Linked DNA regions of Homo sapiens: regions 1, 2, 3 and 4 are each linked to region 5. The links are contacts of gene promoters, found by promoter capture Hi-C in human tissues and cell types (Jung and others, 2019). All regions are on one chromosome and are shown on one strand. The core of a region is centred on a gene start or on the middle of the fragment in contact, and the rest is flanking DNA. Distances in the headings are between cores, read along the strand shown.

The links. Contacts are between HindIII fragments. The study calls those that stand out against the background at their distance.
Region 1: a fragment that was not itself captured here is called in contact with the fragment with the promoter of TOMM7 in region 5 in 1 of the 25 tissues and cell types used here (neural progenitor cells).
Region 2: a fragment that was not itself captured here is called in contact with the fragment with the promoter of TOMM7 in region 5 in 2 of the 25 tissues and cell types used here (IMR-90 fibroblasts and heart left ventricle).
Region 3: a fragment that was not itself captured here is called in contact with the fragment with the promoter of TOMM7 in region 5 in 1 of the 25 tissues and cell types used here (hippocampus).
Region 4: a contact is called between a fragment that was not itself captured here and the fragment with the promoter of TOMM7 in region 5, in 3 of the 25 tissues and cell types used here (IMR-90 fibroblasts, lymphoblastoid cells and small bowel).

Annotation. Positions count from the first base shown.
Region 1 is chr7:22,646,477-22,649,176 of GRCh38, forward strand. No RefSeq gene overlaps it. Among named protein-coding and RNA genes, the nearest start is that of IL6, 79 kb to the right of the region's middle. The HindIII fragment of the contact is 7,254 bases long and covers 1-2,700 here.
Region 2 is chr7:22,574,945-22,577,644 of GRCh38, forward strand. No RefSeq gene overlaps it. Among named protein-coding and RNA genes, the nearest start is that of STEAP1B-AS1, 13 kb to the left of the region's middle. The HindIII fragment of the contact is 5,052 bases long and covers 1-2,700 here.
Region 3 is chr7:22,958,209-22,960,908 of GRCh38, forward strand. It overlaps HYCC1 (hyccin PI4KA lipid kinase complex subunit 1), which reads right to left. Exons shown (of 11, transcript NM_032581.4): 10 at 2,048-2,207. Among named protein-coding and RNA genes, the nearest start is that of HYCC1, 55 kb to the right of the region's middle. The HindIII fragment of the contact is 9,797 bases long and covers 1-2,700 here.
Region 4 is chr7:22,974,858-22,977,557 of GRCh38, forward strand. HYCC1 (hyccin PI4KA lipid kinase complex subunit 1) reads right to left here. Exons shown (of 11, transcript NM_032581.4): 5 at 2,484-2,564; 6 at 1,836-1,951; 7 at 1,353-1,448. Among named protein-coding and RNA genes, the nearest start is that of HYCC1, 38 kb to the right of the region's middle. The HindIII fragment of the contact is 6,927 bases long and covers 1-2,700 here.
Region 5 is chr7:22,821,420-22,824,119 of GRCh38, forward strand. TOMM7 (translocase of outer mitochondrial membrane 7) reads right to left here and starts at 1,430. Exons shown (of 3, transcript NM_019059.5): 1 at 1,258-1,430. The coding sequence starts at 1,360. LOC112267993 (a long non-coding RNA gene) reads left to right here and starts at 1,538. Exons shown (of 3, transcript XR_002956543.2): 1 at 1,538-2,280. RefSeq lists enhancers at 911-1,671, 1,341-1,420, 1,451-1,660. The HindIII fragment of the contact is 34,135 bases long and covers 1-2,700 here.

The DNA of each region.
Region 1 (2,700 bases), core at 32-2,531, 180 kb before region 5:
GAGTGTGCTGTGGTGTACTCTTCATGCAGCTCTATCATTGAGGTCAGCACTGGGGACAACTCTAGGAGTCCTAGACAGCCAAGGCTACAGATATCTGAAGTTATGGCAGCAGCAGCAAAGGCTGTTGGGATCCTTGGCGGCAAAGACTTCTGGGATCTCCCTGTTAGCTCTTTTTCCTCTAGGGAAAGAAGTCCTAACCGAGGGGATCCTTCTTGGTGCCAGGTCTGGTATGGCCTGCAGGCAGTTGCAGCAGCACTGGGTTCTGGGGTATGAGTATTCAGAGCAGCAGCAGAGATGGGCCCCAGAAAACTCTGGGGTGTTCCCCAGTGGCATGGGCTCTGGTGAGAGGATGAAGTGCAGTGGTGGCTTGGGCCACAGAAGGCAGGGCACAGCAGCAGCATGGCCCCAGGCCAACATTTCCAAAAGTTTTAACCCATTCCAGCATCAACTTTAAGTTCCAAATCTAATCTAAACATCACCAACTCAAAAAGTTACAAATTGCATCATCTAAATCAGGTGTTGCTGAAATCTGTATGGTCTATCCTGGGCAAAATTCCTCTCCATCTCTGGACCTATGAAACTAGGAAACAAGTTATCTAAATACAAGTATCTAAAATACAAAGGTGGGCTAGGCATAGGATAGACATTTCCATTCCAAAAAATATTAAATGGAAGGAATAAAGAGGTCACCAATCCCAAAGGAGTCAAAACTGAGCAGGGCAAATTTCATTAGGTCTCAAGCCTTGAGAATAATCCTCTGTCACTCAACACACCCTTGGGGCCCATGGCCGTTCTGCCTTTTGGGTTTGTGGTAGCCCTATCCTCTGAGTCCACAGTGGTCTATCCTTTGGACCTACAGTGGCCTCAGGATCATTCTTTCATTTTCTTAAATGGTAGCAAATATTTACAGCTGACTAGCTCTACTGGCCCACTTTCTGTCTGTAGAAGTTTGGAAGTCTGATAGTGTTCTCACATTTCATCCTGCTTCTATCCTTTTAAAAGTTCAAGCTGGCAGTCTGCAGATACAACATTCTCAAAACCCTTGTGGTTCTCCTGTGGGGGTCCAGGGATTCATGCCATTAGACAAAAGGGTTCTCCACAGATTTCCCATGAGTAACTCATTTCTATTTTTGGCTTCTGGTGAGGTGGTTGAGTGTATCCATGAGTCATGCTTTATCTCTTCAGCAAAAGGTTGTCCAGCCACATCCTTGATCTTCTCTCTAGAACACGCTTCCTAACAGAATTTCCTAACTTTAGCATCCTTTGCAATCTGGGTAGACTGATAACTTCCAAAATAAAAGTGCTTGTTCATTTTTATCTAACAGTTCCTTTCTTATCTTATCTTTTTGCTTGTATTTATTTGACTATAGGCAGCAAGGAAAAACCAGCCTGCATCTTTAATACTTTTCTCGGAAGTCTGCTTTTATTTCTACTCAGAAATATTCAAGCTATTGCTTACAAATTAGGCTTTCCATACAACAAAGAAAACATGATTCAGCCAACTTTTCTGCCCGTATATAAAAGATGACCTTTCCTTCAGCTTTCAGTAACACATTCTTCATTTCCTTCTAGCAACATTCTGTTTACAGCAATATTTGTATTCTCTTAGACAATAGAAGCTTTGTCTACCATGTACCCTACTTCCTTCTGAGCCCTTACCAGAATCCAGAAGTTTTCTATCCTCTGCCTCAAAATTCTTCCAGCTTTGGGTAATTGCACATTACCTAATTCCACAGTCACTTCCACAGTTTTAGGTATTTGTTACAGTAGCACCTCATTTCTAGTCACCAAACTATGTATTCATTTCCTAGGGCTACCTTAATAAAGTGCCACAAAATTGGTGTCTTAAAAAATAGAAATTCATTCTCTCACAGTTCTGGAGGCCAGAAATCTGAAATAAAATTTGCATTCCCTCTGAAGGCCCTATGGGAGAATTATTCCTTATCTCTTCTGGCTTCTGGCAGCTCAAGGTGCTCCTTGACTATGACTGCACCACTCCACTTTCTGCCTCTGCCTTCTTTTTTCGTTTTCTCTTCTGTCTCTTAGAAGGACATTTGTCATTAGATTTGGGACCTACCTGGATAACCCAGGGTGATCTCTTTTCAAGATCCTTAATTACATTTTCAAAGATGCTTTCTCCCAGTAAGGTCACATTCACAGGTTCTAGGGGTTGGGATGTGAACCTATCTTTCTGAGAACCATTTAACCTACTACAACTTTCCAAAAAGATTCTCACTTAGGTTCATGAGATTCTAGGCCAAAGATACTCACTGCAGCATTGTTTGTGTCAGCTGGGGGTTGTATGTCCACCACTTGGACAGTATGTAGATAAAATATGGTGGATACTCACTGTATCAGAGACATTTATGGCTCACTGGCTGCCAACACACTTCTCACATTTCCTAGCCCCTCCCACAGTTGGTCGGGGCCATTCAACAGTTTTGGTCGATGTGCTGTGAATAGCAGTGATATGTGTACTTCAAGTCTGAAGAATGTAAGAATGGATATGGATTCCCTATATTTTTTTCTTCTCTCCTTTAGCAACCCTGAAAGTCATAATTTCCCAGTGACATAGCTATGAAATGGAAGTAGAAGGGATCTCTGAGTTGTGGCTTAAAAAAGAGCTTCCCTGGCCAGGCATGGTGGCTCACACCTGTAATGCTAGCACTTTGGGAGGCCTAGGTGGGCAGATTGCTTGAG
Region 2 (2,700 bases), core at 174-2,673, 250 kb before region 5:
TAACTATGTACTGTAGTTATAAATAATATGAAGGCTGGAGCACAGTGGCTCACGCCAGTAATCCCAGCACTTTAGGAGGCCATGACAGGCAGATTGCTTGAGCCAAGGAGTTCGAGACCAGCCTGGGCAACATAGTGAGACCCCTCTCCCGCCTCATCTCTACAGTAAATAAATTAGTCAAGTGTGGTGGCAATGTGTCTGTAGTCCCAGCTACTCAGGAGGCTGAGGTGGGAGGATCCCTTGAGCCCAGGAGGTCAAGGCTGAAGTGAGCTGTAATTGCACCACTGCATTCCAGCTTGGTCGACACAGCGACAGCGTTTTTCAAAAAGAAAGAAAATATGTATCCCTGCACCATAGGAAATAGGAAGTATTGTGTGACTTTTTCTTGGTCTTTCGAGGAACTATGTCATATGAATCATGATGACTGCTGAAAATGCACAGGAAGATAAAGAAAAGTGACTTGTTGCTCAACTGTTTCAAGCCCAACTCTGGGTACCAAACTGTGGCTCCCTAAACTAACCCAGAGGGCTTGACTCTGACAAAGCTCTAGGTGCAGCCATAAGACTGACCCTTAAAAATCTGACCTGAGATAGCGACAGTCTCACCCCGAAAGCAGACCACAAATTGGGTTTATAATCTAGTGGTTTGCAGGATATGACATACTACCTAATGAACAGGGTGACCGAGTTTGGTGTGATTAGTCCGCAGATGCCAGAAAGGCTGAAGAAGCCTGCCATGAAACTAAGTTTCTGGCCAGTGGTTCCAGCCTAATCTCAGACCCTGGGAACAGAGAAGCACCCCTTCATCTCCTCCTGCAGGTAGAGATTCACCACATTCACCTTTGTAAGCTCCCTTTCCAACAACCTTGGGCACCTTTTGCAACCTATAAAGGTCCTCTCCTTGAATGCCTGCTGCTTTTCCCTGTGCTTGTCCTATCTCACTCAGATCTTTGATTCCCCTGACGACATTCCCCACCCCCTCCCCACCCCATCTCAGCTGTCCTTCTCAGCCTCGCTATCTACTCTCATTCCTCACCTGAGTGTTCCAGCAAGATCACTGTTCTATAAAGGCTCAACCTTCAAACTTGCAATACACATTTCCTGGGTCCTGCTTTGTCTCTATCCTCTGTGCTCAGCCCTGGTGTAGGATCAGTGTTCCTGTCACTCCATCTCCTTTTCCAGGGATATTTGCATCTTTAGTAGTAGTCTTCATTGGTGGTCCTTCAGTGGAGTGTCACAAAGAGAAGGGAAAACACTCAGGTACTATGAGGGGAAAGGTTGGGGACTGTTGAGAGATCACAAGGACACCTCTCACTCCTACCCCCAAAGCTACCTTAACCTATTCCTGTCAAGACAGAAGGTTGGCCGGGTGCAGTGGCTCACACCTGTAATCCCGGCACTTTGGGAGGCCAAGGCAGGTGGATCACCTGAGGTCCAAAGTTTGAGACCAGCCTGGCCAACATGGTGAAACCCCATCTCTACTGAAGATACAAAAAATTAGCCAGGCATGGTGGCAAGTGCCTGTAATCCCAGCTACTCGGGAAGCTGAGGCAGGAGAATCGCTTGAACCAAGGAGATGGAGGTTGCAGTGAGCCAAGATCGTGCCACTGCACTGCAGCCTGGGAGACAGAGCAAGACTCCATCAAAAAAAAAAAAAAAAAAAAAAAAGACAGAAGGGTCATGCCCCAGAAAACTCAACCCTGAGTCTTTGATTTGGTGTGAATTTCCCTACTTCCTTTGCTTGAAAGAAACCTACTTTTTCTAGATGTATTTGAAGAAAAACTAATAGTGATCTCCAAGCTTCAAGTGAGAATTTGTAAAGCATGGCCTATAATATCTGGCATTGTTTCCTCCAGGGCTGCTGACAGGGTCCAGGGAAAATCCCAGGAGCTTCAGAAAAGGGGTTTCTTGCTGAGTGTCATTGTGTTTTTGCAACAATGACAAAATGATATTGTGCTTTTAACACTTGATAGGAAAGGATACATTTCTTTCTGCCTCCTGGCAAATCACTGAATCTAGGGCAGTATCTGTCAGGCTGAACTTTTCCAGTACACACTCACCTTTCCTTTGTGGTTTGTTTTTTCTTGATAATGATTCCATTCCTAAGTTTTCTTCTTATGTTTATGTCTCTCCTGGATGTTATGCAGCCATCCAATGCCGAGTACGAAACTCCACTGAATCACAGTAAGAATAGTGTTGAGCCACATCTTCATTGCATCCATCAGTAGATTGATGCCCAGACAGATTTCATATGGAGTAGAACTGGCCGTGAGGTTTTCTGAGATGACTGATGGATTCGGCCTCTCACTCATGGAAGGTTTTATAACCCCAGCTTACCTCCAGAGAAGGCCTCATGTGTCAGTCAAAGGCTAAAGAAGATATTCGGTTCTCAATTTTAGTGTCCCATAAAGAAGATTGGGCAAACACAGAGGAAAAGGTCCTGTGTTTACTTTTAAAGAAATGTTAAAGTTATTATAGTTATTGGATTACATACATGGATTGAGCTGTGGATTAGGAATAACAGGACCTCATGATATAATGTGGTTTATTTTAAAATGTAAACACACACTCATATTTCATGGAGCAATAGAGGAAAATTTCTTCGGAAAGAGCAAATATGCTGAGGAAAACCAGACTCATGAATTCCTGCACATTCCTAGCTTTATGACCCCATGGTTTTATTTGGTTAATGTTCACTTTC
Region 3 (2,700 bases), core at 135-2,634, 140 kb after region 5:
TGGTAACTTTACTGCTCTAGAAGGGAAAGCCAAGACTACCCTAAAAAGGGAGGAGACTGCAACCTACCTGTAGAGGCAAATAAGAAGGACTTAAGAGTATTTTAGAGTCCACTGGATAAAGGGAATTCACACTAAAGAAGAGTGATAAACAAGGCTAAGCTGTATTCTGTACCTGTTCCATGCATGTGACTTACTTTTTATAGTTCATTCACTTCTATATTCTCATCTGTGACTTTATTGTTATAATAAACAGAGTTTCCCAAGTGTTAGAATTGTGAAGGGGTACAGGTGATAAGAATGCTACTTTAATGAGGGTACAATCCTAAGACAGAGTGCTAACCCCTCAAGTGGCAGCCAAAATACAATCTGGAAGATATGTAAGAATCTGCTAGAAACAATACATTCAAGCAGTCTTTTCTCTTGTTTTGTAATTTTTTTCCTATAAAATATGTCTGGGAAATGGCTTCCATTTTGTTGCAGGGTACAGACCTCCTTGTTTAAATGTACGCCTGGACATGCACACATACTCTCTCTCATATACACACATATGCACAAATACAAGGGAGCATCAATATTTCACATTTTTAACTGCAGGACCTACATTTCTCTCCCAAATTCCCAATATGTCTACCTAAATAGCAAGAAGGAAAGTGGAAAAGAAATTAAAATTCATTCTTGTGCTTCCTGTAGCAGTAGCTTAGAAGCAATTATGGCCACAGTAACCACTATGATCTGCTTCATTGCCTCCGTGCCTGTTCTCACACATTAATGCCAAAACAGAAAAACCAACCTCAGGGTAAACCATATCTAATTAAATTACTTTCTACCTGTAATCTAGCCCCATTCAGTAGCATAATTTTCACTGAAGAAGCTGAAGTATGTTTAGACTATATGTTTTAAATGGTGGTATAATTTGCCTTGCTATTGGCAAACATCACCGCCTCTTTTATACTTTCCTATGGAACTTTCAAGAATTGCTACACTTTAAAAACACCAAAAATGATCACTAGGTAAGCTGGATAATCATTATTGTTTTCTGACATACAATCACCTAGATTCCTTAAGTGAAAACAATGGCAACTGTTCTCATCACCAACTTTCTAGTTTACCATAAATAGCTCCATTCTTCTCCTTTCCCATTTTCTCTATAGAAACCACAACACAACCAGTACCAAATATACCAAAAGGAACTATTATTTTCACCTCAGTTTACAGGAAGAAGAAAATAGAGAATGGATTTTGTTTTACCTCTAATATACACGTTTGCTTAGGGTAAAGAAGTAGCTTTTTGCTTCCCACCATGGTTACCTTCTGAGGAAGGTGATAATTTCCTTCTTAGACTGGTTGTTGACACTACAATAACTTCTAGGTAGGAGGGAAGTTATAAAAATAATATGAAATTAAATAAAGAACAATAAATTAAAAGACAAGGGAGGGAAATGGGAAAGCACTGAAAAAGCCATAGTGAATGAAAATGACTTCCAATAAAATTTTAAAATAATAAAATGAAGCAGACAAGAAGGGATATATATATACACACACACATACACAGAATCTTGAAAGAAAATTAACTTCAAGAAAATACAACTAGTGTTGCGTCAACACTATGGCATTCTTTACCAGAAAGTGCAGACAAAGTGTTTAAAGTCCCTATTAGTTGTTCTACTTCAATATGTAAATTCACTTGCTTAAGAGTTCACTGAGAAATCAGAAATATTAATTAAGGAACATTTGCAAATACTTTTGAATACAAGCCCAAAATGTATGAGTAATTTTAAAATGCATTTTCCTTATTCTCCTACTGAAGTAACAATTTCAAATTGAATATGATTTTTAAATACATTTTCATTCATATGTGTAACATAAGGGGCTCCATTTTTCTTACTGCCTATTGCTCCTAGATAATAAATTAGGAGTTAAGGGCAACTCCACAGCTCTTTCTTCCAGATTACTATTTACTGAAGTTAGAAGTTATAGCACCATAAGTACAGTGAAAAATGTAAAAGAATCAACAATGGTTTGACTTGAAGAGTTACGTATTTCTTACCATGTCTTTTCCACCTATGACCCCTTATTGACATGCTGGTTACTGCATTTCTTGATATTCGAGAGGAAGTTGGTGTGATTTCAACTTGAATACACCTTGTACCTTCCTTATTAGATTTCATGGGACCATGAGGCAATGAAGCCTTTATTGCATTAGCAACCTAAGGAGAAAAAATATAGTTTAAGATCAACATGAGCAGATAGAGCAGATATATTATCTAACCCTTCGATAAAACATGATGCTAAACAGGCTTATACAAAGAGGCTCTTCCCAAGCATTTTATAAGATGATACAGAAATCCTCTAAGATAAGAATAGGAGGCTAAGAGGGAAATTCATGGTTAAAAAAATATGTAAATGATAAAGTTAAAAATTTCAAAATATTCAATTAGATTTCCAAATGCCTAATGTTAATTAATAAATGCAGCTAAAGTATGTTAAGGAGAACAATTCTCATAAGTTAAAAAGACAGTTAGGTGTCTAGGAAGTCAGTCTAATAAAAATTTTTATTTTGGCCAGGTGCAGTGGCTCACGCCTGTAATCCCAGCACTTTGGGAGGCCGAGGGGGCCTGATCACCTGAGGTCGGGAGTTTGAGATCAGCCTGACCAACATGAATAAATCCTGTCTCTACTAAAAATACAAAAAATTAGCTG
Region 4 (2,700 bases), core at 114-2,613, 150 kb after region 5:
TAGTGAATAAGTCTCATGAGATCTGATGGTTTTATAAAGGGGAGTTCTCCTGCATATGCTTTCTTGCCTGCTGCCATGTAAGACGTGCCTTTGTTCCTCCTTTACTTTCCACCATGATTGTGAGGCTCCCCAGCCATGTGGAACTGTGAGTCCACTAAACATCTTTTCCTTTATAAATTACCCAGTCTCGGGTATTTCTTCATAGCAGTATGAAAATGGACTAATACACTCAGGATAAGTTGCATTTTCTAAATAAATTCCTCAAATAGAAATTATTCCACATGTTCCTTAGTTCTATAATATCTCTTATTTACTTGAATTATCGAGGGGAATAATCTGTCATTTTTGTTTGTTTTGTTTCTCCTTTTTAAAAAAAGTAACATTCACATTACCAAAAATTTAGAAAATCACAAAAAAAATCACAAAGGAGAAAATTAAAATAAACCACAATTCCACCAACTAGAGATAATCATTGTTAATATTCTGGTCATATTCAACCAATCAGGAAATCATACCATACATACTATCATTAACTACTCTTTTAAATCAGGATTTTTAAAATGTGAATATACTATACTCAAGGATATAATTTATTTTATAACCCCTTGGCTCAATTTATTTTTAACAAGAAAAGTTTAAGAACCAGTATCTCTTACTTATTTCTTAGTTCCAAATTAGAGCACAGTAAAAATAAATAAATAAATGCAAACAAAAAGAAGCCAACCACATGCCAAAACTTGAAAGGTCATAACAGCTCTATCATTTAGCTATATACTATAATCCTTTTCTGATTAAATAGTCAATTTAAACGTTATTCAGCTTTACATTCTTCATGATGTTCTTGTTTTTGTTGTTTTTGTTTGTGTTCTTTGTTTTTGAGACAGGGTCCTGCTCTATCGCCCAGACTGGAGTGCAGTGGTGCAATCATAGCTCACTGTAGCCTCAACCTCCCGGGCTCAAGTGATCCTCCCACCTCAGCCTCCCAGGTAGCTGGGACTACAGGCGTGCACCACCATGCCCAGCTGATTTTTTAAAATTTGTTATAGAGACAGGGGTCTTGCTATGTTGCCCAGGCTGGTTTTGAACTCCTGGGTTCACGCAATACTCCCACCTCAGGTTCTCAAAGTGCTGAAATTACAGACATGAGCTATCGCATCCGGCCCTTTATCATGTTTTTTGTGACTATCAATTATAGGGAACTTTCCATGTGTTGGGTAGGCTGAGCTTTACATTAACTTATTTAATGTTTTAAACAAATGATTACACAAAACAAAAATAACTTAGGTATGTACCAGACTAGCAATCATAGATTCATATATTTCAATATTAGAAGCACTTGAATTTTACTTTACCTTGAACAAATTTGACACAGTGACTGAAGAGAAACACTGGGCATGTAAGTTAAGGCAGCATTGTAACACAACAAAAGGAATGTCAACACTTCAAACCTAAAGACAAACAAAAAGAATATTAACAAATCTTTAGAATTCTAAGAAGTCAACTATAATAGGGGAGAGAGCACTCCTTGGGGAGAGATACAATGTTACAGAACAGACCTGCACAGTATAAGCACACCAATAATGAAAAACTACAAGGAAAAAAAGACTTTCCAAGTAACAGCCATATGAAACCTGTCTTTAAAATTCAGTGTTCCAGCTGACACCTGAAGCAAAGCACAGTGACAAATCTAGATCTGTTTTTCTCTTGTATAAAATGACTCAGTATTCAAATAAATTGTCACACACAACTCATTAAACATTATTTATAAGTCTACTGAAATAATTTTCTTAAAAAATTAGTGGATTAAGATAAGAATTTTTATCCCCACAGTATACCGATTCTGTGCTGTCAGCATCTCCCTTTGAGGATGAGGTCCACTGTATACCACTTTTGACAAACCATGCTGGGATAGTGCACTCTCAGTCAGAGCCATGGACCCAATGCTGGAAGGCTAGAGAAAAGACATTTGAATAAAGAAAAAAAAAGCTATTCTGCTGAAAAGGTGATATATAGAATATATATATACCACTAAAATAGCTACCACGAACATCATATATCTTAAACATATTTAGGCTGCCTACCAAATTTTCTGCTCGAAGATTTAATAACTAATTTTAAAACAAACCACAAATGAGAAATAAAAATTAGTTTAATTTCACAAATTCTACCATGGAAATACACAATTGCCCACCCACCACCCCCCTGCCCGCCGGCCAACACACACAAGTAGCCATCCATCAGGAAGAGGGAAAAATATTTCAAAAAGAATACTTTCAATAGATCTCTTATTAGCACATTTTAGTTTGATGTTCATTTATTTTGATTTCTTATCTCAATTTGGAAATAGTAAATACTTTGTGGGTGTTTATACTTTTGCAGGTACTAATAAATTGATCAATTTTTTTCCTAAATAACTAGATTATAACTTGTGGCAATATCAAAGCTTAGGGTCAATAAACTTACTGTGATAAAATGTCACTTACTTCATGGTATACAGATGGTTTGGATAAAGATGGAATCGTAAAACTCAATACTTTGGTATGTCCCTGTTTGTCAACTATTTCCTATAGAAGTGAAAGAAAATATATTAAAATACATACTTTCTTACACACAAATTTACAAACTAAATTTAAATAGTCTAAAACATTTTTTTGAAAAAGACCTGAATAGAAAGGAATTTTAAGTTAAAACCTTAAACCA
Region 5 (2,700 bases), core at 180-2,679:
AAAAGAAAAAGAAAAAACTACAGCCTGGCCGCGGTGATTCACACTTGTAATCCCAGCACTTTGGGAGGCCGCGCGCGGGGCGGAGGCCGGCTGGAGGGGAGGTAGCTAACTTGAGGCCAGGAGTTTGAGGCCAGCCTGGCCCACATAAGCAAAACCCCGTCTCTACTAAAAATATAAACATTAGCCGCGAGCGGTGGCTGCAAGTCTGTAATCACAGCTACTCGGGAGGCTAAGGGGGAAGGATCGCTTGATCCCGAGAGGCAGAGATTGCGGTGGGCAGAGATCGCGCCACTACACTCCAGCCTGGGCACACAGCGACTGTCTCAAAAAGGAAAAAAGGAAAAAAAAAGACAGAAAAGAAAAGAAAAAACTACAGAATAGGTCCCAGTCTGCAACCCTAACTGAAAAATATTAACAAATCCTTGCAGTAAGTGACCGAGCCTGTTGGCACCAGCCTGTAGTCCCAGCTACTTGGGAGACTGAGGTGGAAGGATCGCTAGAGCACAGGAGGGGAAGGTTGCAATGAGCCGGGATAGCGCCACTGCACTCCAGTCTGGGTGACAGAGCGAGACTCTGTCTTAAAAACAAAAACCAAAAAAACCCCAAATCCTTTAAGTGCGCTATAATGGTTAAGACTATGGGCTCTGATGCCCCACTGCCTGAGCCCCTAACTCCCTCAGTCAGCATAGCTGTGCGACCTTGGCAAAAAAGTTTCTCTACGGCTGTTTCCTCACCTGTAAAATGGGGGCAGTAATAGAAATCATCCAAACCCTTCATCGTACAGGTAAGAAAGCAGAGGCATCCAACGACTATTATTATAATCATGCTTTCATGGCAGTGGTACTTTCACGAGGTGTCTCGATTCCCTGAACAGGACTCTTTCCACTTAGGACCACATGGAGCGGTGAGGAAAAACACCCCGAGAACCACCTAGTGCTAGAGAGTGAATTAGTGACTTTCACATCCACTGGGGTCATCCAACCCTCCCTACAATCCCGAGAAATATGACCTCCACTTTAAGGATGCAAAAATAGAAAAGGAGGGATTGCAAGACTGCTTAAAGACCATGCAACTATAAAGCGATAGAACGGGAACTCGAACTCAGGTTAGATCGGCCCCACTTGACCAGACAGCCTCAGGGGCCGTGCACGGCAGTGTCCCCTATTTTTCTCTCCCTCCCCCGACGGCCAAAAATGGGGCTGCTGTCTCCGCCACCCTCTTCCCTCCAGTCACTTTCCCGGTTCTTCTCCCACTGACCCAGGTAAATCACAAGAGGGATAAAGCCCCAGCGAATGGCAAACTGGCTCCCCTTGAAGAGCTGCTGTAGTCTCTGCTTGGCCTCTTTGCTCAGCTTCACCATGGCGACGGCCGTGTGGCGCAGGGAGGACCCCTTACAGCAACCACAGCGTCGGGAATCCGAAAGGGAAAGGAGGTGCGCAGGCGCCACACACGGCCTTTACGGCAGGAGTCGTGAGCGTCGCCAGCAGAGGTCGTAATTCATCGCCTTTAACCTTCCCTGCTCTTCCGCCTCGCCGGCAGTAGTAGGCGCATGCGTGGTTGCGATCATGGCTGGCGGTAACTTCGCGTTTCTGTTACCCATTTTTAAAACGCATCTTCAGGTGTTCCTTCCTTCTCATGGAAGGAACATTAATTAAATTCAGAGGGACTGGGTTTTAGTCCTAACTCTTATTCCTACTGGCTGTGTAACCGTGGACAAATTATTTAACTTCTCAGAATCAGGTTGTTCAAACCTGAGGTTGAACTGCAAAAAGGTTACGAAGTGACACTCAGTAGGGCCCGAATCCATGTTTTCTTTGATCCCAATCTTTTTTAAAAAAATTTCTTTTAATTACTTGCCAACATTTTAGAATTTGGAAATCTCACATGAAATTCTGGACTTTTGAAGCTGAGGAATTCCATTGCAACAATCAAGGAGACTAAATAGGAAATGACACTTCTGTTTGGCCATCTTGCCCTCATTGGTTTAGAATGGCAGTGGTTCTCAACCCTGGCTGCACATTAGAATCACTTTAGGAGAGGTAAAACCATACTCACGCTGGAGACCTACTCCTAGAAATTCTAAAGAGTTTGGGGCTGGGAACTGGCCATTGATCTGCCTTTGAAGTTTCCCAAGTGATTCCCAACCTCTGATGTAATAAATTTCTGGCTGCTGTCGTATTTGAGATTTGACCCCCCCAGGTCTAAGACTTAATTGATTTTTAAGGCTGTAAGACATTTCTAAGACTTTGACTTTTAAGACTTTCCTGCCTCATTCTGAAGGTACGTAGTCGTTTTCTGTGCCCAATGTCTGTGCTCCTAAAAATTTCCCCTTGCTGACCTCTGTGGCTTGCGCCTGTAATTCTGGCTATTTGGGAGGCTGAGGCGGGAGGACCACTTGAGTTTGATGCTGCAGTGAGCTGTGATTGGGTCACTTGCTGTAAGCTCCCAAAGGGTTCACTTTGCCCGCTGCCTGGACAGAGCCGATTGATCAACACTGGGGAATTACAATAAAGAGTAATTCACGCAGAGCTGGCTGTGCAGGAGACCAGAGTTTTATTATTACTCAAATCAGTATCCCATAGCATTCGGGGATCAGAGTTTTTAAGGACAATTTGGTGCGTGGGGAGACAGCCAGTAAGTCGGAAGTGCTGATTGGTTGGGTCAGAGATGAAATCACAGGGAGTGGAAGCTGTCTTGTAC